Linked DNA regions of Homo sapiens: all the other regions are linked to region 3. The links are contacts of gene promoters, found by promoter capture Hi-C in blood cells and fetal thymus (Javierre and others, 2016). All regions are on one chromosome and are shown on one strand. Each heading gives the region's core, a stretch centred on a gene start or on the middle of the fragment in contact. The rest is flanking DNA. Distances are from core to core; before and after follow the strand shown.

What was found. Contacts are between HindIII fragments. The CHiCAGO score rates a contact against its expected background, and 5 or more counts as called.
Region 1: the fragment with the promoter of ZNF134 here is called in contact with the fragment with the promoter of ZNF582 in region 3 in 9 of 17 cell types (neutrophils, total CD8 T cells, naive CD4 T cells and 6 more); the score reaches 12.3 in neutrophils.
Region 2: a contact is called between the fragment with the promoter of VN1R1 here and the fragment with the promoter of ZNF582 in region 3, in 7 of 17 cell types (neutrophils, naive CD8 T cells, monocytes and 4 more). The highest score is 12.6, in neutrophils.
Region 4: a contact is called between the fragment with the promoter of ZNF550 here and the fragment with the promoter of ZNF582 in region 3, in 6 of 17 cell types (non-activated CD4 T cells, M0 macrophages, neutrophils and 3 more). The highest score is 15.2, in non-activated CD4 T cells.
Region 5: a contact is called between the fragment with the promoter of ZNF544 here and the fragment with the promoter of ZNF582 in region 3, in 1 of 17 cell types (total CD4 T cells). The highest score is 5.1, in total CD4 T cells.

The regions. Positions count from the first base shown.
Region 1 is chr19:57,610,539-57,615,891 of GRCh38, reverse strand. ZNF134 (zinc finger protein 134) reads right to left here and starts at 1,650. Exons shown (of 3, transcript NM_003435.5): 1 at 1,389-1,650. It also overlaps a transcript of ZNF530 not described here. RefSeq lists a silencer at 1,396-1,445 and an enhancer at 1,576-1,755. The HindIII fragment of the contact is 2,580 bases long and covers 1-2,073 here.
Region 2 is chr19:57,455,697-57,461,405 of GRCh38, reverse strand. It overlaps VN1R1 (vomeronasal 1 receptor 1), which reads left to right and starts at 4,266. Exons shown (of 1, transcript NM_020633.4): 1 at 4,266-5,709. The coding sequence starts at 4,920. It also overlaps the pseudogene VN1R107P. The HindIII fragment of the contact is 5,648 bases long and covers 3,833-5,709 here.
Region 3 is chr19:56,391,359-56,396,671 of GRCh38, reverse strand. ZNF582 (zinc finger protein 582) reads left to right here and starts at 3,138. Exons shown (of 5, transcript NM_001320371.4): 1 at 3,138-3,452; 2 at 4,840-4,928. The coding sequence starts at 4,920. It overlaps ZNF582-DT (ZNF582 divergent transcript), which reads right to left and starts at 2,996. Exons shown (of 2, transcript NR_037160.1): 1 at 2,619-2,996. The HindIII fragment of the contact is 9,401 bases long and covers 1-5,313 here.
Region 4 is chr19:57,558,289-57,563,684 of GRCh38, reverse strand. It overlaps ZNF550 (zinc finger protein 550), which reads left to right and starts at 3,822. Exons shown (of 4, transcript NM_001397372.1): 1 at 3,822-4,029. The coding sequence starts at 4,003. It overlaps LOC124904781 (a long non-coding RNA gene), which reads right to left and starts at 3,743. Exons shown (of 2, transcript XR_007067357.1): 1 at 3,567-3,743. RefSeq lists enhancers at 3,461-3,570, 2,515-3,714, 4,201-4,250, 3,692-4,556, 4,701-4,780. The HindIII fragment of the contact is 1,240 bases long and covers 3,196-4,435 here.
Region 5 is chr19:58,225,342-58,230,921 of GRCh38, reverse strand. It overlaps ZNF544 (zinc finger protein 544), which reads right to left and starts at 2,008. Exons shown (of 7, transcript NM_014480.4): 1 at 1,976-2,008; 2 at 1,352-1,454; 3 at 460-528. It also overlaps the pseudogene LOC100419847. RefSeq lists an enhancer at 1,306-2,132. The HindIII fragment of the contact is 1,767 bases long and covers 1,344-3,110 here.

The DNA of each region.
Region 1 (5,353 bases), core at 401-2,900, 1.2 Mb before region 3:
TCCTTGCCCCTAGTTACTATAAACAACCTTCCTGTAAGCACTAACCAATAATTCACATCTGTTCCCTTACTCACTTTGCACCCATTGCCCCCGCCAAAACCACACGTCCTACACAACTCACATGTCCCACCACTGTAACTCACCTTCCCCTTCCCTCTTCCTTATTTGGAAAATACTCACAAATACCCAATTGGCTCAGCTTAGATTAAGCGGTCCGACCCCAGCCCATGGGGGAGTGACACAGAGGAAGGTAGGGACTATGGGTTAGAGATAAAAACCCCTTCCCTCCTTTGTTCAGTGTGCTCTTGGGATCGTGATTAACACAGGCAGCACACTTGCACAGAAGTAAATTGCCTTGCTGAGAAAACTTTTGCCTGAGTGCTGGTTTCACTTTGCAGCACCAAGCATTGACTTCCAACAACACCATCTAGAATGCTTTCACATGCCAGGACCCCTCCTTTCTGGAAGGAATCTTAAGTGTCCACCCCTTCATCCCTGGCCTTCCACCCTAAACCCACCTCTCACTTCAGAGACCACACAAAATAACTTCCTTGAAATTCCACCCTCTAAATCTGATCTACTACAGGCTTTGACCTTATGCCTCACCCATTGAAGTCTCTAGCACAACTCCCTCTCTAGAACCCCAGACCTGCATGTTCAGCTACCCGTGATGAACCTCCAGTGCAGAACACCTTAGATTCACCAAGTCCAAAACCCAATTCCTGATGCCCCTGAAACGTGCTCCCTGCTGTGACTTACCAATTTCCATTCTTTCACACGTTCAGGAAGGAAAACAGGCCAAAAAAACCCTGGATAGCCCTTTCCTCCCTACATTCACTCACGACCACATCTGATGCGGCAGGAAACCCCATTGGTTCCATCTTTAAAAATCTACCCAGAATCTCATGACTTCCCCACCCAACCCCTCCTGCCACTGCTCTGGCCCAGCCACCACCGCAACACTTCTGGAGTTTGTTGCAGGGACCTCCTCAAACGTCTCCTTGCCTCCATCCTCATCGTTTCTACCTCACTGTAGTCGGTTTCCTCCTCAGCAAACATTGGAATACTTTAAAAATCCTTTTTCGGATCCCTTCCCTCCACCATTCAAAACCCGCCATGGCTCCTATCGTCCTCGCAATGAAGGAGCAACTTCTCCCCTCGACATTGCAGGCCTGACTACGGTTCACACACGCTCCCGACTGCTACGGGCTCAGTCCAGCTCCAAACCTATGCTCAGGCTGCCCCTCTGCCAGTCACACTCGCCCCCACCCACCAGCGCCCCGCTGCCTTGGACACTGGGGCCTGCGCTGCAGGGACTCAGACAGGCGCTCCTCATTTGGAACTTCAGGATTTGGGGCGGGCGAAAGTCTGGGAAAGGCAGCACCCACCTGCGCCGGGCCCATCACCGCGGCCGCCGCCATCACAGTTCGTAGACCACCCGGAGCCGCGAGGGGGTCCCAGGTCGCGGGACCCTGGCACCGCGGTCGTCCGTCCCCGGGGGCGCAGGCGGGGTCTTCGCTGGCGAGCCACTCCGCAGAGCGAACAGCGACTTCTCCCGCACCCTCCCGCTTCCGTCACCTCGGAACCGCCCAGCAACCCCGAGCTTCTGCTCCGATGGTTCCACCTAAGAGCCGACAAGATGTCCACCGCGAGGAAGATACCGGAAGTCCCGCCCAGAGAGCTTCCGTCCGCAGGGAGACGCCCCTAAGAGTGCCGCCGCCGGGCGGCGCACAGGTTTCTGGGCAATGCAGTTCTCATGTGCACTTGGCCGTGGTGACGGCTAACTCCCCTGCACGCTGGGCAAAGGCCAAATGGTACTGCGAGGGGCGCTGAGAAATTATGCCCTGAGACTCTGAGGTCAGGGCGTGGCTTCGCTCCTTTTAAAGGACCCTCAACCAGGTCTTGTGTAGTGAGGTCTGCAGGGATCCCCGAAATATTGGGATATATTCTTACAGATGTTCCCTGAAGCCACACCACCAAATGGACACACAACATCCAATGTCACTCTGAGTCCACTCATAGTTCAGTCAAATTTCCTTCATTTAAAAAATATGTGTACTGTAGAGGGAAGCTTTGAGTCAGTTTTGTGAGCCTCAGTTGGGTCAGAGTTAACAGAGAATTGTCCCCAGGCAGGGCCATGGAGTGGAAGAATGGTCTCCAGACAGTGGCTATGGAGGGATGCTGGAGCTCCCTGAGGCAAGTGGACTAATATAGAGCTCTTCCTCTGGTTTCCTCAGAAAAAAAATACCTGAGAGAACCATGAGGAGGAAGACAGGCGAGAGAAGGTGGTCAAGGAAGGCACCTTTCCTGCCTGTATGGTCACTAATGTCCAACCAAAGGAGAAATATTCTTTTATCCAAATGAGAGTTCCTAGCCCAAAAGTTGAGATATATCTATTTCCTTTTGGTGATGTTTCTTATCTGAAAAGAAGAACCATTATAAATGCTTTTATATGCCAAGACAGGGGCTGAAAATGTGGTGTCTGAACCCAGAAATAAAGATTTGGAAAATTGGGATCAGATTTCTTGGCTGGGAGGTGATTCTCATTTCACCTGCAATTACACCGACAGTGTCTGAATTGAGAATTGAGATTTATTTATGGTTTTAAAAAAGAAAAGGGCGAGTGTATGGGGAAAGAAAGACAAAAACATTTGTGAATTGTTTAAATTACTCAAAAGTTGTTTTGTGTTTTTTTTTTTTGAGACGGAGTCTTGCTCAGTCGCCCAGGCTGGAGTGCAGTGGTGCGACCATAGCTCACTGCAGGCTCCGCCTCCCAGGTTCACACTATTCTCCTGCCTCAGCCTCCGGAGTAGCTGGGATTACAGGCGCCTGCCACCATGCCCGGCTAACTTTTTGTATTTTTAGTAGAGATGGGGTTTCACCGTGTTAGCCAGGATGGTCTCGATCTCCTGACCTCGTGATCTGCCCGCCTCAGCCTCCCAAAGTGCTGGGATTACAGGAGAGCCCCCGCGCCCGGCCAAATTACTCAAAGTTAATAATTCTGTAGTTATTCACAGATACATGACGAAATGGACCTGGAGAAACATATCTGTGATAAGTGAAAACGGTTAAGATGACAGCAAAATTTGAGCAGGAGACATTGAATTCTGAGAAGTGAGCAAATGAAGCTGAGCACACAGCTGTGTTAGAACTATGACTACAAGCAGCGTTTAGTCTCCAAAATGTAATTTTATTTATTTATTTAATTTTGGAGACAGGATCTCACTGTGTTGCACAGGCTGGAGTGTAGTGGCACGATCATAGCTTGCTGCAGCCTCAAACTCTTGGGCTCAAGGGATCCTCCCACCTCAGCCTCCCAAAAAGTTGGGATTACAGATGTGAGCCACCATGCCAGGCCTCTTTTCATTCTTGAAAACACTCAATAATACCTGGAAGGAGAAGTAAAGAAAACATTTAGAAAGTGCTATCAGAATATTAAGGTGAACAGGGATGCTGTAGTATTATGCTTATTCATAGTTCTAAGAAATATTCAAGGAACACCTACTGTATTTCAGACACTATCTTAACTGCATGGGACATTTACAAAACAAGAGACAGACCCCAATAGCTTACGCTGTACTCAAGAAAGAGGAGGAAATATGAAAAAAATGCTAAATTATATGGAATGTTAGAATGTGGCAGGCATAATGGAGAAAAGAGAAGGTGAAGGCATTGAGAAGTGCTGGAAAGATATGTAATATTACATAGCCAAGAGAGGCCAATTTGTGGATGGGTCTTTATTGGAAAAGGACATGGAGAGCTCAATGCCAGTGAAATAAAAGTTTAATGTTACTCAGAATTTCCCTAGAAATGGGAAGTACAGTATGCCATGCAGGGCCACAGGAGGAACAGGTTTCAGTCTAAAGGAAGAAGCAAGAGCTAGGGGAAAGCCTAGGCCAGATCAGAGCAAACAGCTGAGTACTGGCTAGTCTGAATAATTCTGGTTGGCTTCGATTTACAGGGGTGGTCTCTAGTTGCCTCATACCCTCACCCTGGTGTTAGAGTAGGTAGATAAGAGTAGGGCAGGAGAGAGGGACCCCAGGAATGTCAGGCAATTTTGGAGTCAAGGACAGGCAATCATAAATCTTTTCCTCTGAGATAATAAACAAAACAAGAGAGGGACCCCCGAGATGTCCAGCTCTCATTGGGTGAAGGACAGGAAAGCATAAAACTATCCCTCTGAGATGATAAGTGGCCATGATTGGTACCAGGAGGGAAAAGAGTTTTCCAACAGATAGAAAACACCTGGAGCCAGTGAACCACAACCCCTGATAAGGTTTCGAGCATGCACAAAATGGGGCAAGATGGCAAAATTTGACTGGTATTTGACCTTCCTCTGGGGGTGCATGACTTGTTAAGGGAAGATCACCCCAAATGAGTATATGTATGACTTCAGTAAACAAACTGCATGCGGCCCCTCCCAAGTACTGGCAGACCACTGTGCATGCAGTAGTCAAGCAACAGCCTACCGAAGGAAGGAGAATAAAGAGCCTGGGAAATAAGCAAATGTATAAAGTCCCAAGCCAAGGATCAAGTGGGGCACTTGACCTCTCAAGTTATCCACTTGGCCCTTTTCCAAGTGTACTTTGATTCCTTTCACTCCTACTCTAAAACATTTTAATAAACTCTCACTCCTGCTAAAAAAAACTTGCCTTGGTCTCTTCCTGTGCCTTAAGCCAACCTCTGCCTCCTCGGTTGAATTTTCTTCTGAGGAGGCAAGGACCAAAATTGCTGCAGACTGCTGCAAAATCACTGGCAGTAACGCTGGGATGATTTAGTGCAGGGAAAGTATTGGCTTGGTGAGTAAGAGTTAGATAAAGAGGGTAGTTGGCTTGCCTTGCTCTCAAGGTAGTTGTTTACTATTTTTAGAAATTAGCTACCTCTGGTAGGGTAAGTCTCTCTGTCACCAGCAAGAATTTTAAGATGTCAAGACATATAATACAAAAAACAGAAACCATGATTAATACATATGCTTCCTTAATGAGAGGGTGGTTGAAAAAAAAGGTTGAGGAATGACAGCCCTGAACAGACCATTTCACAATTATAAACATAAAAATATTCACTTAATATGTGTGTTCTTGGAAATTATAAGATGTGCACAATGAATTTGGGGGCTACTGATTCAGGCAAGGTTTTAAGCTCAGAATTTTGTCCAAAACGGTCACCTTGTTACTTTTCTGGCCTTCAGGGAATATGGCCACTCAGCAGGTCCTGAGGAACAGCTGTTCCTCCCTGTTTCCTGAGGAACAGTGTTGGGGAACATGGGACATATGCTGGAAACAAGACACCCAATCCATGCTGTTTCAAAACACTGCAGGCTGTCAAGTTGTCCAGTTTCCAATAGAAGTGGGAG
Region 2 (5,709 bases), core at 3,017-5,516, 1.1 Mb before region 3:
CTTTTTATAGCTATTGCAAATGGAATTGCCTTCTTGATTTCTGTTTTGGCTATTTCATTATTGGTGTACCGCAATGCTACTGATTTTTGTATATTGATTTTGTGTCTTACAACTATATTAAATTTGTTCCCCAGTTCTAAGAGTTTATAAGATCATATTACAACAAAGAAAAACAATTTTACTTTATATTTTCTCACCCGAATATCTTTTATTTAGTTAGCTAGGTATTTTTCTTGCCTGATTTCTCTGGCTAGGACCTCTAGTACTATACTGAATAGGAGTGGCAAAAATAGGTATCTTATACATGACATTCAGAAATGTGCACACATTATAGTGGTATGCTTCAATACATTTTTCTTGTAGGTCAACACATCTCTGAAGGCAGGACACATTCAAAGAAAGTCCAAAAAGACCAACACCACATGGTCATGGTCTCACTTGTATGCAGAATTTAGGCAAGTTGAGTTTATAAAAGTAGAGAGTAGAATGGTGGTTACCAGAGGCTAAAGAGATAGAGGGCAAACTGAAAAACGGGAGGTTTTTGTGAAAGCATACGAAGTTTCAGTTAGACACAAGGAATGTGTTCTAGTGATCTGTTGCACGGCGTGGTGACTATTGTTAATGTCTATTCCAAAATTGCCAAAAGAGTAGATTTTAAATGTTCTCATCAGAAAGAAATGATAAGTATGTGAGGAGATGTGTATTAAAACATAATGACGGACAAGGTTTTATAATGCCTTATTTTTGCCTTACATATTCCTGAGCATTTTTACTGACCATTTTATTAACAATAATTTTAATTTAATTTTAGACTCACAAGCAGTTTAAAAAATAACTCAGAGAGCCTCTACACATGGCCCAGTTTCCACCCATGGTTACATTTGGCAATTACAGTATAATATCACAATGATGATATTGATTTTGATATATTCACTATCATCTTTTTTTTTTTTTTTTGAGATGGAGTCTCACTCTGTCGCCCAGGCTGGAGTGCAGTGGCGCGATCTCGGCTCACTGCAAGCTCCACCTCCTGGGTTCATGCCATTCTCCTGCCTCAGCCTCCCGAGTAGCTGGGACTACAGGTGCCCGCCACAATGTCCGGCTAATTTTTTGTATTTTTAGTAGAGACGGGGTTTCACCGTGTTAGCCAGGATGGTCTCTATCTCCTGACCTCGTGATCCGCCTGCATCGGCCTCCCAAAGTGCTGAGATTACAGGCATGAGCCACCACACCCGGCCCTCACTATCATCTTAATATTTTCCTAATTTTACTTATACTGATTTGAGGAGAGTCTCTTGCTACAAATGTGTTGGACTTGCTGCTTGTGTCTGTATAGGACAAAGACTATGGAGCCACTGACCCACACCAAGAAGCCAAAACTCAAAAAGTCAGGAGAAAAGTATATAATTGTATATAAGGTGCCAAATATTTCTTGCATTGCCCAGGAGCAGACTCCATAATTGTTTTTCACACTAAGGTTTTTGCTGTTCAGTGGGCTGTTATTAAAACGTCAAGAAACAACAGATGCTGGCAAGGTGGTGGAGAAATAGGAATGCTTTTCCACTGTTGGTGGGAAGGTAAATTAGTTCAACCATTGTGGAAGACAGTGTAGCAATTCCTCAAAGACCTAAAACCAGAAATACCATTTGACCCAGCAATCCCATTACTGTGTATATATCCAAAGGAATATAAATCATTCTATTATTATCATTCTGTTATAAGGATACATGCATGTATATGTTCATTGCAGCACTATTCACAATAGCAAAGAAATGGAATCAACCCAAATGCCCATCAGTGATAAAGAAAATGTGGTACATATACACCATGGAATACTATGCAGCCATAAAAAGAATGAGATCACGTCCTTTGCAGGGATATGGATGGAGCTGGAAGCCATTATCCTCAGAAAACTAACACAGAAACAGAAAACCAAACACCAAATGTTCTCACTTATAAGTGAGAGTTGAGCGATGAGAACACATGGAGACAGGGAGGGGAACAACACACACTGGAATATGTCAAAGGGGTCGGGGGATGGAGCACATCAGGATAAATAGCTAACGCATGCTGAGCTTAATACCTAGGTGACGGGTTGATAGGTGCAGCAAACCACCATGGCACACGTTTACCTATGTAACAAACCTACACATCCGGCACCTGTATCCTGGAACTTTAAAAAATTAAATTAAATTGGCGCGGTGGCTCACGCCTGTAATCCCAGCACTTTGGGAGGCCAAGGTGGGTGGATCACGAGGTCAGGAATTCGAGACCAGCCGGGCCAACATGGTGAAACCCCATCTCTACTAAAAATACAAAAAAAATTTAGCCAGGCGCAGTGGCAGGCGCCTGTAATCCCAGATACTCAGGAGGCTGAGGCAGGTGAATCGCTTGAACGTGGGAGGTGGAGTTTGCAGTGAGCCGAGATAGCGCCACTGCACTCTAGCCTGGGCAACAGAGTGAGACTCTGTCTCAAAAAAAAAAAAAAAAGAAAGCAAAGAAAGAAAAAAAAATTAAATTAAATTAAAAAAAAAAAGGAAAATCTGTCTGAAAATTCTCACCAGTTACCAACACTTCTTTCTGAGGCTAGGAGGAGAAGGAGGTGGTATGTTAAAGTCAATAATCACACTAACTTTATACATACAAGAAGCTTTCAAAATAGTCATAGTAAAAATGGTACTTTATAAGGAGAAGCTGAAAAAATAGGAAACCAAATGCATATTGGAAATAAATTATACAACTAGGACAATGGAGCAAAATAAGAGATTAAAGCAAAGAATCAGGAACTATCTTGAAAATAAATGATGAGTTCATATAAATAGGAAAAACATTTGTCAACAAGTGGTTTGTGGGAATCTAAAAGGTTTTCATACCTCAGAGCCTGAGTTTTTTTTTTTTTTTTTTGAGACCGAGTTTCACTCTTGTTGCTCAGGCTGGAGTGCAATGGCATGATCTCGGCTCACTGCAACCTCCGCCTCTGGGGTTCAAACGATTCTCCTGCCTCAGCCTCCCGAGTAGCTGGGATTACAGGCATGCGCCACCACCTCTGACTAATTTTTGTATTTTTAGTAGAGACGGGGTTTCTCCCTGTTGGTCAGGCTGGTCTCGAACTCCCGACCTCAGCTGATCCACCAGCCTCGGCCTCCCAAACTGCTGGGATTACAGGCGTGAGCCACCTCTCGCCTGAGAATCTTGATACTGCTGTGTTATTGATTGCTCCACCCCTAAAGAGATGTAGTTATTCATGGGAGAAAATACCTCATAATTTTCCCTGATGATAGCAATTCCATAGAGACACCAAAAGAATCTAAATTATGGCCGGGCGAGGTGGCTCATCCCTGTAATCCCAGCACTTTGGGAGGCCGAGGCGGGCGGATCACGAGGTCAGGAGATCGAGACCATCCTGGCTAACACGGTGCAACCCCGTCTCTACTAAACACACACACACACACACACACACACACACACACACTAGCCGGGCGTGGTGGTGGGCGCCTGTAGTCCCAGCTACTCAGGAGGCTGAGGCAGGAGAATGGCGTGAACCCAGGAGGCTTCAGCCTCCCGAGTAGCTGGGACTACAGGCACGCACCACAACACCCAGCTAATTTTTGTATTTTTAGTAGAGACGGGGTTTCACCATGTTGGCCAGGATGGTCTCCATCTCCTGACCTTGTAATCCACCCGCCTCAGCCTCCCAAAGTGCTGAGATTACAAGCGTGAGCCACCGTGCCTGGCCGCAGTTACTATTTCTTTTGTGATTGATATATATGAATATTGTGCAATGAAATTCCCTCCCAATTGAATTATCTTTCCCTAAAAATAAACCCAAGCTTTCTGGAACATATTGAATTTCCTATTTAACAAGTTTTAAGGATATCTTAGGTGTTTCTGGGATTAGTATTTATTTTCAGGATCTTTTGCATTTACTTGTGAGAAATGGCATTGAGATAAAAATGTGTGGGCTCAAGGTGGTCATGGTTATTTCTACGGAGTCAATTCACAATCTCTAGACCTGTCCGGTGGAAAATAACAGAAATATATGTGCTTAAAATAAAATATACCATGATGCAATGTTGATTGTTCCAAAAATTATAGTTTTTAAAAATTCTTCAAGTTAGCATTTGTACTGTGCTGAAGGCCTTGTTACCAATTGTATTGTAGCGTTTTTTTAATTTCTTTTTTTTTTTTTTTTGAGACAGAGTCTCGCTCTGTCGCCCAGGCTGGAGGGCAATGGTTTGATTTCAGCTCACTGCAACCTCTGCCTCCCAGGTTCAAGCGATTCTCCTGCCTCAGCCTCCCGAGTAGCTGGGACTAGCACGCGCCGCCATGCCCGGCTAATTTTTGTATTATTAGTATTTTGTATTATTAGTAGAGACAGGGTTTCACCATGTTGGCCAGGATGGTCTCCATCTTGGCCTCCCGAAGTGCTGGAATTACAGGTGTGAGCCACTGCACCCGGCCTAAAATTTGTTTCAATGCATCAATAACAATGGTGTTTACTAAAATATTAGTGTGGAAAAGGTTTTATGGTGTATTATTTTTGCTTTTCATATCTCCAGGCTACTTAATTGAAGGTTTTATTGAAATAAGTGTAGACTCACAAGCAGTCATAAGAAATAATACAGAAAAAGCCCTGTCCATATTACCCAGGGTTCCGTCATGATTACATTTTGCAAACTATAGTATAATATCACTCTAATGATATTGACTCTTCTGTGTTCTGTTTTTATATATTTCCCTAGTTTTGCTTGTATTTACTTGTTGCATGTGTGTAAGCCCTGAGTTTTATAGGTTTGATTTGTGGATCTGTTGTGCGGTTGAGCCCTCATTCATTCACCTGCTTCTCTGCAGTTGGACACACAAGCAATTGCCTTTGCACGAACAGGGACAATCTTAATTTCTGTTTAAGATGAGAAAATATGGTTGGAGACACATTAAAACTTCTGTCTCCACTGATGACAAGATACTTCTTTCTGCTTTTTTATTCTACTGATTCTTCAGACCTCAATGAAAATCAACATCCCCTAGATTTTGATGAAATGGCTTTTGGAAAAGTAAAATCAGGGATTAGCTTCCTCATTCAGACTGGAGTTGGGATCCTGGGAAATTCCTTTCTCCTTTGTTTTTATAACTTAATTTTGTTCACTGGACACAAGCTGAGACCCACGGACTTGATTCTCAGCCAACTGGCCTTGGCTAACTCCATGGTCCTTTTCTTTAAAGGGATACCTCAGACAATGGCAGCTTTTGGATTGAAATATTTGCTGAATGACACTGGATGTAAGTTTGTCTTTTATTATCACAGGGTGGGCACAAGAGTTTCCCTCAGCACCATCTGCCTTCTCAATGGATTCCAAGCCATTAAGCTCAACCCCAGTATATGCAGGTGGATGGAGATCAAGATTAGATCCCCAAGGTTTATTGACTTCTGTTGTCTCCTCTGCTGGGCCCCCCATGTCTTGATGAATGCATCTGTTCTTCTATTAGTGAATGGCCCACTGAATAGCAAAAACAGTAGTGCAAAAAACAATTATGGATACTGTTCTTACAAAGCATCAAAGAGATTTAGCTCATTACATGCAGTCTTATATTTTTCCCCTGATTTTATGAGTTTGGGCTTCATGGTCTGGGCCAGTGGCTCCATGGTCTTCTTCCTCTACAGACACAAGCAGCAAGTCCAACACAATCACAGCAACAGACTCTCCTGCA
Region 3 (5,313 bases), core at 1,889-4,388:
GGAGAGGGAGCTGCTGGAGTAACTCTGTGGGCGGCAAGCCACCCAGGTGCCAAGGCAAGAGACCGAGGACACGAGCTGTTCCAGTATAATAAAATATAAAACAAGAATAGTTATACCAGATATAGATCTTAGATATGATTATATATGAATATCATTAATCATTAGTTGGTAGCAATTACTCTTTATTCCAAATTATAATAATCCTCACTCTATAATCATAACCTGGGAAAAGCCAGGCCATATAGAGATAGGAGCTGAGGAGACATAGTGAGAAGTGACCAGAAGACAAGAGTGCGAGCCTTCTGTTATGCCCAGACAGGGCCACCAGAGGGCTCCTTGGTCTAGCGGTGATGCCAGCATCTGGGAAGATGCCCGTTGCCAAGCGGACCGTGGTCTAGCAGTAGTGTTAGTGTCAAGGAAAAACACCTGCTACGTAGCGGACCGGGAAAGGGAGTCTCCCTTTCCCCGGGGGAGTTTAGAGAAGACTCTACTCCTCCACCACTTGTGGAGGGCCTCAGGCCCACCTGCAGTTATCCGGAGGCCTAACCGTCTCCCTGTGATGCTGTGCTTCAGTGGTCACGCTCCTAGTCCACCTTCATGTTCCATCCTGTACACCTGGCTCTGCCGTTTAGTTAGCAGTAGCAAACCAGTGAAAGTACTAAGTCTCTAATAAGTAGAAATAATGGTGTAAGCTCTCTCTCTCTTTCTCCTCTCTCTCTCTGCCTCGGCTGCCAGGCAGGAAAGGGCCCCCTGTCCAGTGGACATGTGACCCATGTGGCCTTACCTATCATTGGAGATGGCTCACACTCCTTATCCTGCCCCTTTGTCTTGTATCCAATAAATATCAGCGCAGCCTGGCATTCGGGGCCACTACCAGTCTCCGCGTCTTGGTGGTAGTGGTCCCCTGGGCCCAGCTGTCTTTTCTTTTATCTCTGTCTTGCGTCTTTATTTCTACAATCTCTCGTCTCCGCACACGGGGAGAAACCAACCGACCCTGTGGGGCTGGACCCTACAAACTCTGCATGTGCTTTGGCACAGGAATGTGTACTGGGAAGTGGCTGACAAAAGACCTATGGATTCCATGGAATGGAGAGGCTAGCTCAGAGCATTCTCATACTCTTAAAAGGAAGAAACTGGAAGCCACCCTCTAAGACGACCCTGAATGATCCCTGCCTCCTAGTACTTATACTCTTGTGTAGCCTCCACCTACTTAGACTCACAGCTGATTTTGTGACCAAGAGTATAATGGTGTATGACTTCAGAGGCTTGGTTCAGAGTCAGAAGTGGCCATTTCATCATCCTCTAAATTTCTCTTTGGCAGATTAATGAATGTGAGAAAGTAAAAATGGTATAGAAGAAAGTTAGCCTGAGAGATGGCTGGCTTTGTACCTGTTTGGTCTTTTTCCTTCCTTTCCTCCATAAGCAAATACTGACGCATGTACATATAGACACACTCAACACAGTGGGATGTTAAAGGGAAACTAGAGCCACTCGCCCCTTCCCAAGATCAGAGAACATAGGAAAGATGATGACTTTTTGCATCTACCCTCTCCTCTTGAACTCGCAACACTGTCTTGAACCACAAATAAGGTCAAGTAGGATAAATCTACAACTGTCTCCTCAACTGTCCGCTCACAAGTGTGAAATTCAACCATCCTTGCTGAAGTTGTCTTTTAATATCAGTAATCAGCAATAACCAACCTCTGAGCTTTGCTTATATTATTAAATCATTTTATTTGACCCTCAGGACAAAGCTGCAAGCCCAGCATTACATTCTTCCTTTTATGGACAAAAAAAAAAAAACAAAACAAAACCGAGATAGGCACGAAGAAACTAATAAATGGCTGAAATGCTATTTGAATCCACATCTGTCTAATTCTAAAAGTGTGCTTTCCACCACATCACCGCACCTACAAGGAAAATGCAGCCTCTACCCTCTCCTGAAGAATGTGTAAAGAGGCAATATGGTGTGTTTTGGAAAAAGCATCTTTGCAGAAAGAAAGCATTAGCTTCAGTCATATTAGCATCCTTATCCAGCAGCAGTAGCATTATTTTACATATCAGTTACTCCTCCCCAACAACTCAATGAATTAGATGCCACAATCATCCTCACTTTCAAATGTGGAGACCGAGGCACATCTCTAAGACTGGAGTTCAGGCATTCTGGCTCCAGTCTTAGAGATGGTTAAGGGTTCACACTCTTAACCATTTATTACACCATAGAGCTCACCAGGTTTGAGGGAAACAGGATCAAATCAAAAGAGTCACTCAGGACTCCAGTCCTCACTCAAGGACAAACTGTTCCACCTCGGACAGGGAGAGTTTCCGCATTCTGAGACCCAGCATAACAGGTCCTGACCGGCATCTGGCACTCGGACTCCCAATCATACTGGATCACACTGGCTCGGGATGTGTAAAGTCCAGGGCTTCTCACATTTGATGACACCAAAGCCGCCTAAAAACAAGAGAGAATTAACAACTACCTACGGCGGTCTGATATTTGCCCAAGAGATGCCGCCCCATAAAACTCCTTTACATCTTTATAACGTTTTTATTTTGCGTTCTCCTTCATAACCCACATTTAACTCACCATAGATGTAATGTTTAAAATTAGTTACCAGATAAACTCTTACGCTTCCAAACTTTAAGGTTCCTTCGAAACCTTCTGGTAAAACTGTTGTTCCACGGAAATGGGAACGTAACGGATGAGGCAATCTTCCACAGCCGCACACAGTTGTGTATCCACCGCTAAACGGTCCCAGTCATACATTCAACGACCCACGCGGAGTCAGAAGCTACCACCACACACTGTCAAAATCACGCACACACAGTGACGGCCCCTTGCCCACTCGGTCACTCGCCCACAATCTCTCGCTAGAGAATCACACGCAGATAGCACACCCAGCACCACAGACCCCAGGAAGCAACCCAGGGACTCGAACACACGAACAGCACTCCTCCGCGCACTGCGCAGGCACGCCTGCGTCCGGCTCACCCTGAAACATCGCGAGATCCGGCTTCAAGGCCGGGCTGCTGCCTTTACGCCTAAAGACTATGTTTCCCGGAAGACACTGCGGCGCCGGCCCTATCATGGCGCAGCATCGGTGTGCTTTGTGCGTCTGCGCCATCTTCCGGCTGCGCACGGCGAATCCACCGGTACCGTGGTGGAAGCGCGCCCTGGGCTGCCGGGGGCGCGGCCGCGGTGGCACTTGGACCCGAGGAGGCGGCAGGTGAGAGGTTCCGGAGCTTTCCAGGCGCTCTGGGGTCCAGCAGGAGCTGGTGCCCGGGCCGGTTGGGTCTCAGGCCTGAGAAGAACGCAGACGTCTCGCCTCATCGTCGCTCTGTGGCTTTACCGGCGTGAGACTACATTTCCCGCCGGCCCTCGCGGCGTGCGCTTTCTGGCGCCCCCTTTCTGCTTCCAGCCTCATAGCCCAGGTGCATGGACCCCTTAGGTGGGTGCGCAGGGGTCTCCGACCCCCTGAAATTGCGGATGTTTTGCATTCACTGTTATGCGTGCCTTTTTTTTTTTTTAATCTGAGAGGAAATCTTGTTTCATGAGGTTCTCAGAGAGTTACAAGACCCCAGAAGACTTAGAACCGCTAGTTTAGAAAAACTTATACTTGGGAACATTTTATATGTTCAAATTCTATGTCCAGCAATGGGGAAACACTTGAGTGGATCACAGGCCATCCTTTGTAAATAGGATATCGTGCAGTTAATACAAATAATGCTTATAAAAGTGGTCATAATAAGGAAAAGCTGCCTATTACATCATATTAAGCAACATTCATAATTATTTCACTTACACGTTACTTAGAACCAAATGTTTGTAATGCAGTAGGCACCTTATATACTCCTTTACAGAGTACTTCTTGTTTAACAGTGAGCTCAAGAACTGGTTAAATGACAACACTGCGAATACTTGGGTGTTTTTTCTTCCAATTTTTTTGTTTTGTTTTGTTTTTAGCCTGTGTGTTAGTGAGTTTGACTTCTTTTTGCTGAATGTTCTCAAAGGATTCAGTAGTTAATATCTTTGCTTGTCAGTTTTTGATAGTCATTTTTGATAGTCACTTGGCATCCCATTATATGGCTGTGCCAAAAATGATTCAACCTCTTGGCTACTTGTGGACTTGCCTACTTACGTACTAATTTTCAGTTCTCCTATTTAGCAAATATTATTGGACATGCAGCTTTGTGCACTGCTGTGTCTCTATGGAAGGACACATTTATGTGCTGATAATGGAGCACTGGGCGTGCTGTGTGTAATTTGTCTCTTACTGTTCCTTCCAACTCTATCCCATTTGTTGATGCAAGGCATGCTCCATGAAGTGGCATGCACAAAGCCTCAGTTTGGGCTGTAGAGCTTTTTGTATATTTGGCGGTTGGGAAAAGAGCCAGGTAGACTTTCAAAGGTGTTATATTTGCTGCAGGAGAGAGTTAAATGGCCTAGTCCTGGAAAGGCTTTATTCTAGGCTGGGGCTATGCAAATGATGCAGGCCTTCTATGCTCCCTGGCTTGAGGGAAGCCCTCCTTGTCCTTGAGGTAACATGTGGGTCTCAGTCACTAGAACAGCCCTCAGCATCCCTGTCTTAGACTTGCATTTGCAGCAAAACAGAACCACTGGATGTTTAGGGGAAATGGGAGGGAAAGGACCACTGGTTCCCCTTTGCCTTGCAGCAGCTAAAGCTGGTTTCCTGGGGTTGGGTGAGGATCCCTTTGCCTCCCCCTCCTTCTCATTTTCTTGGTGGGCAGAGGGCAAGCAGGTGGGGACTTGTAACTTGGCATTCTAGGAACTGTGAGGCAAGCCTAGCCTCTCATGTTTGCTCTTTCCTCCCCCAGCTCTACCGTCGCAGGACTCTGCCCTTCCCCAAGAGAGGAACCAGAAGGAGGACCTATCAGCCCTTGAAATTCTAAAAGTCATGTCCCTTGTGAGTTTTTAAATCCCATAAATATTTGCTTTCCTTATCTTGAAACTTTCCACCTGGGTTCCATCCAGAAATTTGGTTCTCAGACTTTCCCATTTTAGGGAATAAAAGGACCAGGCAGGAGTCTCCTCTCCCATTGTCCTCTCCCCTCTGACAAATGCCCACAGATTTATTCTCTATAGCATTCTGCATCTCCTGATGGTTTTCGTCTGCTAGGAGGAGAAACTCATTTCCCTGTATGAAATGAGAGCATCCTTTGTAAGAACTGAAGTTTGAAGAGATGGAATGAATGCTTAGGAGCAATCACATATAGAAAAGCAGGGGAGGTGGTGTTGGTTGGTTTCAGTTTCAGCGCATGGTACAGTGTCCTGCTTTGGGAATGATTAAT
Region 4 (5,396 bases), core at 2,573-5,072, 1.2 Mb before region 3:
ACCCTGAGCTGCTGGATCTTCTTCTGTCTGTGTAGTCATATATGTGTTGTGTGATGTCTATAAAAAAGAGCTGTAATTGATTGGCCTATAAGCACTTAGATCAAATAAAATTCTTTTTTTCCCAGACTGAGTCTTGCTCTGTCACCAGGCTGGAGTGCAGTAGTGCGATCTTGGCTCACTGCAACCTCCGCCTCCCAGGTTTAAGCAATTGCTCTGCCTCAGCCTCCCAAGTAGCTGGGATTACAGGCACGTGCCACCATGCCTGGCTAATTTTTTGTATTTTAGTAGAGATGGGGTTTCACCATGTTGGCCAAGATGGTCTCAATATCCTGACCTTATGATCCACCCACCTCAGCCTCCCAAAGTGTTGGGATTACAGGTGTGAGCCACTGCGCCTGGCCGATCAAATCTTTTTTGAAAGAATAGTAAAAACTGTAATTTCTCTTAGTTCATGTGACTTTAATCTTTAAAAATAAAACAGTCTTAGGGATTATTGGTAAAATACAAATGTACTCAAGATGTAAATATGTGGTCTAAATTATGCAGGTCAGATGGTAGGTTTGCTAAATGTTTTAAGGTTGTACTGCTCCTTTGGCCTTTAAGAACTGTTCAACTTGCCTGCTTCACAATGGGTAAAGTCTGGGAACATATGGAAGTAACCAAGCCCCTAACTTATTCTGGAAGGAGTTAAACTTTATCTGCACCCAGCAAATAATTAAAACAACTTACCAGGTTTTACACTAAAGTTAAAAATTGCTAAGAGGTAGGGCCAGGCGTGGTAGCTCACACATGTAATCCTAGCACTTTGGGAAGCTGAGGCGGACAGATCACGAGGTCAGGAGATTGAGACCATCCTGGCTAATGCGGTGAAACCCCATCTCTACTAAAAATACAAAAAATCAGCCTGGCATGGTGGCATGTGCCTGTAGTCCCAGCTACTTGGGAGGCTGAGGCAGGAGAATCGCTTGAACCTGGGAGGTGGTGGTTGCGGTGAACCAAGACTGTGCTACTGCACTCCAGCTTGGGTGACAGAGCAAGATTCCATCTTAAAAAAAAAATTGCTAAGAGTTACCATTATGACATGTAATTGAGACTACTGAATAGATTTACATGCAATGTGTGTAAAAACAGTAAAATGTGTTTTTTGTAAAAAATTATAAGAAGGCATGGCAATGTACGTTTTGCCTAGGGATAAAGAATTGTCTTAAAGTAGATAAAATACAACTGAAGGTTTAAGCAAACTGGGGAAAAAATTGTAAGAATTAATCTTGCAAAGGAAACTCTGTGTGAATATATTGACTACATTCAAAAGGGTATTATGTGGTTTTCTGTAAATTGAGCATTGAAATAAAAGCACAACAAAGAACTCTTAATGCATGAATCTACTCTTTAGCAAAATTTGTAAAGGGTTATAAAAGGTTTGTGAAAATCTCACCTCATTGTCAAACTGGTTAAGATTGGATAGAATTGCCTATAATTGTTTCATTAAAAATTGTGGTTGACATTAATAGTACACTAATGTAAGGGTGAAATTTGGCTTTCTCTCTCTTGAACACAATTTTCATGTAATAGTAAAGGCTAATGAAAGGTTTTTGCTTTTTCAAATTTTTGAGTCATCATTTTGGCAAAATAAATAACTTATAGTAATCTGGAATTCTAGTACATAACATCAAATATTTTAAGCCTGTTAACATATTTAACAGGCTTCCACAAATCAATTGTCTTTCTTGACACCTACGTTTTGGATGCTACAGAGGGTCCCTGGGGCATCCAGAAAAGAGGCAAGCAGGATTATTTGACATGTTTTGTTACATGGGATTGCCAAAATGATGTCTAATCTTCTTCAGGTTATATTTCAGCAAATACTATTAATATGTGTTCCAAAACTGCATGGGATTTAGAAAACTCTAATGTGAAAGTATACACTATCAACCACAATTAAGGTTGTTATGTTGTTATTGTAAACCACGGAGATAACCAAATTTTTTTTGTCAATCATGTTTTTGACTAACCACCCTGGACATTTTGTCATTTACAGACAATTGTTGTCTTGTTTTAATCCTCTTCAAAATATGGTTCATAATCAGATGTAGGAATACTTTAACAGGTATTCCTAAATGCAGGTTTCTGATAACTGAAAAACATACAGGACTCATGAAAAGCTAAAATGTTTATAAATATCAAGCAGAACAAGAGTTAACAGAATAGGCTGAACTAATAGAAAAACTGAAATAATCTTTTTGACTTTTGCTTGGAACATTGCTGATCCTTGTTTTGTTTTTCAGAGTCAAGGAAACTTCTTTTGAGCTAGCTACAGCCTTTAACAATTGAGTAAGGTTTACTCCTGAGAACAAAATTTGGAACATGTTTGTTTCTCTCTGCCTTATTGGTTCTTTAAGGACCACTGCAACATGGTCTTGGGAATTATACTTCAAGAAGCCTATAAGGTTAAAGGGTGTTTATACTCACAGTGATATAGGAATAGCACTGGGTGGTTGCAGGAGGATGGAAAAATTCGAACAACAAATAAAAACAAGAACTAGGCAAAGAAACCATAGGATAACAGAAAACCCAAAATAAGAGAAAGAATGGCCAAAATCCCAGTCAGGATGACATGTCCATGACTCTTCTGGGCAAAGCCAAATAAGAGAGAAAGGGGGCAGTAACCAGGTGGGTCCCTGAATTTCCCTCCTTTTCCAGAATACCTAATAATTATTCCACTCTCTAATTAAAGAAACACCCACAAAATAGGAATGCTGTGTGGTCACAGGAGAAGGGGGAAAACATCAAGCTGTTAAAATTAGCTACTCCAACAAGAAGACTGGGCTGATGAGACCTTAACAAACAGGATTGGGGCTAGGCTGTCCCATGACGCTAGATTTGACCCATTTCCTACCCCAGACCTAATTATACACTCATTGCCACATTAAATCACACACCCACCAGTGCCAGGCCAATCCAAGCACGCCCACATTTAGTATAAAAATGGTTGGCACCCCAATTCTAAGAAATTCCCACCTTTTCCTAGAAAAACCTCATGATTATCCCACCCCCTAATTAGAAGAGCCCATAAAATTAGAAACCCAAACTCCATTGTGCATGACCCGCTCTCCCTCGTACGTCCGCATTTCCCTCTTCTCTTGGGAAAAGTACACTCTTCTCAAAAATGTGTACTTTTTCTTCCCAATAAAAGCTTCTTGCCTTTGGCTTCATTTTGACTCATCCCTGCATTCTTTCTCACGATGGTGTCACGAAGCTGGACTCCGGAAGCGGGCGGGGACTCACGGCCCCTGGAGACCTTCCTGAGCCCTGGGCAACACCAGTCCACACAGAGGAGGCAGACGTCCCACAGACGGAACCCCACGAGCATGTCCCGGGAATGGCTCCACGCGGGAAGCGGGGGTCCAGATCCACGCCAGTCCCAGGGACAGTGCCTGGCGTCAGGGTGGAGGAGGACGCAGTAACCAGGCGTAAGATTTTACTGGTACATGGGAATGTCACTGGGTCACTCAGAGGAGGCAAGCGGGGAACCTCGTGGCAGGGCCCCCTTTATCAAACTCGTTTACCTGGGTGCCTGGGCGAGTGCTCACAGCCTGCTTGTAGGGACGTTGAGGCATCCGAATAATAGGAAGTTTTAAAAATTTACAATCCAGTGTGTACACTTGCTCCGCTAAGATCATCTGAGATATACAGAAACATGGTGTGCATAATAAAAAAGGAAAAAGAGCCAAGCCTGGCCTCTTACGGGACAAGACTACATTACCTAGAAGGCAGTGGGCCGGCGCAGGAAAAGGCGTGGCAGGCGACCGCGACACAGGGGCGGGACTTCCGGCCTCGCTGGCGTGGACGTTTGTGGTGGGGCGTGTTGGTCCGCGCTCTCAGAACTGTGCTGGGAAGGATGGTAGGGCGACTGGGGCTCACCTCCGCACCGTTGTAGGACCCGGGGTAGGGTTTTGAGCCCGTGGGAGCTGCCCCACGCGGCCTCGTCCTGCCAACGGTCGGATGGCGGAGACGAAGGACGCAGCGCAGGTGAGCAGACTGGCTCGGCTCCCCGCGGCCACCCGGCCTCAGTGTCCCGGGCCCGACGAGCGGAAGGACGGCGTTTCAGGGTCGTCCTCAGTGCAGTCCCTGCCGTTGCTTCTTAGAGGCCTAGAAGGGGGTCGCGCGGTCCCGGGTCCGGAATGCAGGCCCGCGGTGGCGTGGGGAGCGTCCCCGTTTCTGGGGTGCGCGGCGTTGTGGTATGAAATAGGGCTTTTAGGGTCCCGGAACCCCTCACAGGTGAGAGGAGCGACCGCAGTCCTCCTCGTGGCTCTTCCAACCATGTCCTTTCTCGGGCCTGCGACCTTGAACAAGTCCCGTTACTGTCCTCGTCCTTCATTTTTGCGCGCGCAAAGTAGAAATATTTACTCTTCCCCCCCCCGGGGTTGAGGAAGCTTGAACGGCTCCCTGGGTGATGTGTGTGTGTCCGTCTCAGTGCACAGCACGGTCCGGGGACGTCGCTCAGGATGTTGTTTCCGGAGCTGCTCCCTGGGCCTGTGCTAGGTTTGGAGACTCAACCCCAGCAGGAGTCTGACCCTCTGGCCTCCTTGGCCTCCTGTCTCTACAACACGAAGGGCAGCGGCTGAAAGAGGTGGGAGGAGCGTTTCTGCGGTTGCTGCTATGCCAGGGCAGAAAAGGTGGTAGGGCAGGCTGAGGAATTTGTCTTTCAGTTTAGGGCAAGGGACGCTGGGTTGCAACTAACAGTATATTTTCCTGTTTAAGACATTTAGTTACAGGTGAAAAACGAGTCCATTAAAATGTTCAGTGGCGATGGTATGCAGGATGTAGTGTCCCTTTGGAGATAACACATGAGGCCCAGGGTTACTCTCTAGCAGTCACTCTGATTACTTTCATGATAGCCCAGATTACTGTCAGCTCCTGTCGTAGTTGTTAATTTCTCATCCACCTCTCCCTCCTTTGCTTTATTTCTGACTCCCTCTGGTGTCCGCTGCTTAAAGAGGTCTCGTCTGTTGCACCGTTTAAAGCTGACCAGAGTCTCTTTGGTCTCCTTGCTCTGTTTTCTTGTCATCTGAATCTTTAAGGCCATCTGACATTGCCTTACTCATTTATTTAGTTGCCTGTTTAGGATCTTTTTCCAACCCTGGAATGTGAGTGCCTGTTGCTTCCCTCTCCCAAGACCCAGAACAGCCAGGCTTAAGTACATTTATTGTACTTAATAAATGGTTGATGATTGAATAGGCCTCTCTTATAGGGACTCTCATCACATTTCCAATAAATCCACCCCCTCCTACCAGCATGGTCTGCAAGGCTGTACTTGGTTTGCCCTTTTGACCGCATCTTCTTTCTCCTCTTCCATTGTCCCCTTTCTCACTGCATTCATCCAGGGAATCCTGAGC
Region 5 (5,580 bases), core at 759-3,258, 1.8 Mb before region 3:
AGGGATGACTCTGGACTCTTTCAACCTCCTGGCACACAAACTCCTGCAGGCCTGCACTCATTAGTAGCTCCCTTCAAATTCTGAGCTGAGATGTCTTCTCCCTGGTCAAGATGAATCCATATCCCAGTGCCCCACCCCCTGCCTCTTCTCCTCTCAGGTGAGGCCTGAACAGAGTGACCAACACTCTCAGTTTCCCCCTCCTCATCTTGCCCATCCTGCTCTGCTCTCTCACTCCCAAACACACACACAAACACAAATGTAGACCACATCCAAGAGGTCTGCCCAATATCTTATGTGTTACTATCTTGTCCTGATGCTCCTGGCCTTCCCTGGGGAATCTCTCACTGCCTGTGTCCATCTTTGCTCTCTAACCCTGTCCTTCCTTGTCTGGAGGCATCCAAGGGCAACGGCTGAGAACACTCACTTTGCAACCTGCTGTCAAAGTACTGGCTCCATTACCTGCCACTGTAGGACTCTGAACGGGTCTCTTTAACCTCTCCAGGCCTCAGTTTCCTCATCCGTAGACATCTGGAAAAACAGCAAGACCTGCCTTGTGAGGATGCTAAAAGAATTAATTGAGTTGCATTTACAGAGCTTAACATTGTGTTAACCTGCAAAAGGGGCACAACACATGTATTCATAGTGATTATACTTGGACATAAAATTCCCCATCTGTTCCTCATACTGGACCTGTATGGTGGCTGATCTGGCAGAAGTCCCTCTGGCTGCAGGGCTGGGGAGGGAGTTGCTTTCTCTTTCCTTTTCCAGTTTTCTCCTTCCCTGCTTGTGGGGTGACGTTTCCAATCTGCTCCAGGTTACGTGTCCAGCCCAAACCTCCTGGGCTTCCTGCCACTGCCATTCCCTCCTCCACATTCAGCCATGTCACCCACATGCTCCTCAACTCCCATGCAGAGACTGACCAGGCATACCACATCTTCCTTGCACTGTGACTTCTACCCTGGCTCCACGCTGGAAACAGAAACACAGTCTTCCTCCACTCCTTCCTGTCTTTTGGCATCCCTCCTTACACGGAGTCATTTCCACAATCAGATGTTTCCCTACTCCCTTAGACTCTTGAAATCCAACCCCATGCCTTCCTCATTAGCACTGCCTTGTACGGTCCCCATCAAATATCACCCAACACAAATGGAACCCCGATCCCTAACTTACAGGCGTTACATACACATCCCATCCTGTTCACCTCTGTAGTCTCTCTATGGGGTGCACCAGCATCGCTTAACCAGTGCAGGCCCCCAACACCCCAGTTACCCCTGCCCTGCGTGGACTGGCCTTAATCTTCTGTTCACTTGGAAAATACACATGTTCTCTGCAAGGTTCAAGCTTCACGTACCATTGGAAGAAAATGTGTCCACGTCTGGAGCTGGGATGACCTCTGGGGTCCAATAGGCGTCACCTGCCTGGTGCCGCTGTGCCAGGAGGCTCTTGGCTGCCACCTGTGGATAAGCCGCAGAAGATGAGTTGAGGGAGGAAAAAGGAGCCGGGAGAGGCCCGCTGGGTCGGCAGCCCCAGAGCTCCAGACGCCAGCCTGAATCCCCCGCCCCTGCAGCCCTCGACCCAGGCACCCTCTGTCGGGAGGGCCCACCCAGTCCCACCCAGTCCCACCCAGTCCCACCCAGTCCCACCCAGTTCCACCCCTGCCCGTACCTGCGAGGTACTATAAGTTCCCTCCCAGCTCTGCAGCAGGAGAGCCTCCCGACAAGCTCAGACCCAGCCGGGCGCTCCTGCAGGGGAAACCTGACTGGACCGGCCTTCCCCGTCCCTGAGGCCGGAGAGATCCCGATCCCATCAGGCCCCTGCCCTTGCTCGGCCTCGCCGCATGAGGGACCCCCGCAGGCCCTGCTCGTTTCTCCGGCACGCCCAGATCACTTGGGGCGGCTCTGGCCTGGTCCTGCGCTCCGGCCGCACCCGGCTAACAGTGAAACCTCCGAGCCAACCTTGAGGCCGCCAGACTCACCTGCACGCACCGGCCAATGGCGGTGCTTCCGGTGGCCGGCGGACGTGCCCGCGCTCCGCGCAACAAACAACTCCCAGAAGGCCGCGCGCCGGTAGCCGTTGCTCCCACAGGCATAGTCATTGCCGGCGGGAGCATGGGGCCCCGCGGCGGCGGGATGAGCTTTTTCCTGTGTTCGCGACTAGCATTGTGGCTTAGGGAGTTGCTTCCCGCGGCTCTGCTCCTTGCAGCGCCTGTCCCCTCCCCCTTAAACGGGCCACGCTGGTTCTCATCCAGCAACCGAAGCCGAGACTGTGGAGGCGGCGGTCGGCGTCCAGGGCGGGACTAGCGCCTATGGGGCTCGGCGCTGTCATCTCGGGTGCCTTCCCGGCGCCTTGCCCTGCTGGGGAGAGAGACCAAGACTGAGCCATGAGAACAGTCCAAGGCCGTTAACCGGGAGCTCAGGGGCAAGGGCGCCCGCCAACATCTGCGCCTGTGGCAGGGACTCAGGGACAGCCTGGGCGTGGGGACGCGTCCTAGTGATAGAAACAAAGCCCCGGGAGTGCCCTGCTTGGAGCATTCCGAGTGGAAGGTGGAAGCACGCTAACTGGAGGCGATTCGTCCTAGGTGATCGCTCAGTCGAGCCTATTTGGCTTTCTGTGGTAGCTCCTAAGTGGGACAGGGAAAAAAATAGGGAGGCTGGCAGTGACCAAGTTCTGTTTTGTACCTATTGCTGCAGAAGTTGTGGGACAGAGTTCTGTTATTATAAATGGTCTGATGTTCAGTCTCAGTGCGTTGTGGGGCTCAATGTCTGAGACCCACCACCGCCTGACCCGTCCTGGCTCTTCAATGAGGGAGACCACAGGAAACTTTCCTACGAAGGCCAGGTAGGCGGGAACCACTGTGGCTCAGGCACCCTCAGCTCCTGGACTGTGCTTTTGTGTCTGGGGTGCATCTGTGACTAGCCTTCCTTGGCTTGACTGTTTTGTAGCTGACCTTGTCGATAGCTTTACCCAACAGTCATCATCTTTTTACTTGCTTATTTTCATACCTGGCTAGCACGACCCTGCAATTTTTAGATTCTTCCGGGAAATCTAGAATCTAACTCCCTAAGGGAGGATCTTGATGGATTCTAAGCTAATCAGAATGGACTCAAGCTTCTTGCTGTGTGAATTAGGCAAGGATATTCTGGCCAAGGAGAAATAAGGCTGCTAGGGGTTTCCTGGGAAGGTTCCCTCAGTCTTTTTTTTTTTTTTTTTTTTTTTTTTTTTTTGTGAGACGGAGTCTCGCTCTGTCCACCAGGCTGGAGTGCAGTGGTACGATCTAGGCCCACGGCACTCTCCGCCTTCCGGGTTCACGCCTTTCTCCTGCCTCAGCCTCCCGAGTAGCTGGGACTACAGGCGCCCGCCACCACGCCCGGCTAATTTTTTGTAATTTTTCTTTTTTAGTAGAGACGGTGTTTCTCCCTGTTAGCCAGGATGGTCTCGATCTCCTGACCTCATGATCCACCCGCCTCGGCCTCCCAAAGTGCTGGCATTACAGGCATGAGCCACCGCTCCCGGCCGGTTCCCTCAGTCTTAAAAGTGGACATAAGATAGCAATGTGTCTTCTTTTGCCCCTGGACCGTGATGTCTGTATGTGATGTGTAGGACAATTACAAGCACACTGGCACCATGAGGAAGCCACCCCAGGAGGTAAAGGCAACATGCTGAGAATGGCACAGCAGAAAAATGGAAAGAACCAGTATCCATGATGGAATGAATCCTCTTTGTGCCACTGAATCAACATTGCCTATGCTCACCTCAGGGACTTTTCATTATGAGATAATAAATGATCTTGTTTGTTTTTATTATAGAAAATTTCAGGCCAGGAGTGGTGGCTCACGCCTGTAATCCCAGCACTTTGGGAGGCTGAGGCAGGCCGATCACGAAGTCAGGAGATCGAGACCATCCTGGTTAACATGGTGAAACCCCGTCTCTACAAAAAATACAAAAAATTAGCCGGGCGTGGTGGCGGGAGCCTGTAGTCCCAGCTCCTTGGGAGGCTGAGGCAGGAGAATGGCCCTGAACCCAGGAGGCGGAGCTTGCAGTGAGCCAAGATCACGCCACTGCACTCTAGCCTGGGCAACAGAGGGAGACTCCGTCTCAAAAAAAAAAAAAGTTCAAGTAAATAAGAACTTTGATGTTACATTTCTGTTTACTGTTTCCATGTCTGTATCAATAATGGAGTCGTCTGAGGAACAACTTTCCCTACATCAGTGTTTATATTATTCAGTTTTAGGCTTAGTGCTTAAGCTTAGTGATCGCCTTTTGTAGGATTGTGTCATAAGAGCAAAGAATGACCATATATTGTTACATTAAAAATGTTACCTTTGGCTGGGCACAGTGGCTTATGCCTGTAATTCCAGCACTTTGGGAGGCTGAGACAGGTGAATCACCTGAGGTCATGAGTGCAAGGTCAGCCTGGCCAACATGGCGAAACCCTGTCTCTACTAAAAATACAAAAACTAGCCAGGTGTGGTGGTGGGCACCTGTAATCCCAGCTACTCAGGAGGCTGAGACAGGAGAATGGCTTGAGCCCAGGAGGTGGAGGTTGCAGTGAGCCGAGATGGTGCCACTGCACTCCTCCAGCCTGCCTCTGACTCAAAAAAAAAAAAAAAAAAAGTTACTTTTACCTTGATGTCTAAATAAAAGGGAAGAAAATCTTTTAAAAGTTATGGCTGGGCACAATGCCTCACACCTGTAACCCCAGAACTTTGGGAGGCTGAGGTTGGAAGATCACTTGAGACCAAGAGGTTGAGGCTGCAGGGAGTGATGATCTTGCCACTATACTCCAGCCTGGATGACAGAGTGAAACCCTGTCTCAATTTAAAAAGTTCATTGGCCAGGTGCGGTCGCTCACGCCTGTAATCCCAGCACTTTGGGAGGCCAAGGCAGGTGGATCACGAGGTCAGAAGATCGAGACCATCCTGGCTAACATGGTGAAACCCCGTCGCCACTAAAAAATACAAAAAATTAGGCCGGGCACGGTGGCTCACGCCTGTAATCCTAGCACTTTGGGAGGCCGAGGCGGGCGGATCACTTGAGGTCAGGAGTTCAAAACCAGCTTGGCCATCATGGTGAAACCCCGTCTCTACTAAAAATACAAAAAAATTAGCTGGGCATGGTGGTGTGTGTCTGTAATCCCTGCTACTCGGGAGGCTGAGGCAGGAGAATAGCTTGAACCCGGGAGGTGGAGGTTGCAGTGAGCTGAGATTGTGTCACCACACTCCAGCCTGGGCAACAGGGAGACTCCATCTCAAAAAAAAAATACAAAAAATTAGCCGGGCATGGTGGCGGGCACCTGTAGTCCCAGCTACTTGGGAGGCTGAGGCAGGAGAATGACGTGAACCCAGGAGGCGGAGCTTGCAGTGAGCCGAGATCACGCCACTGCACTCCAGCCTGGGCAACAGAGCGAGACTCCATCTCAAAAATAAAATAAAATAAATAAAAAGTTCATTAACAGTTTGACTCAAGAATGAGTTATCTGGTGCCTGACATGATTAGAATGCTGCCTGAAAGGCCTTTCTGCACTGATTATATGCATACAGTTTCTCTCTATTATGAATGATCTGGTGTTCCATAAGGTCA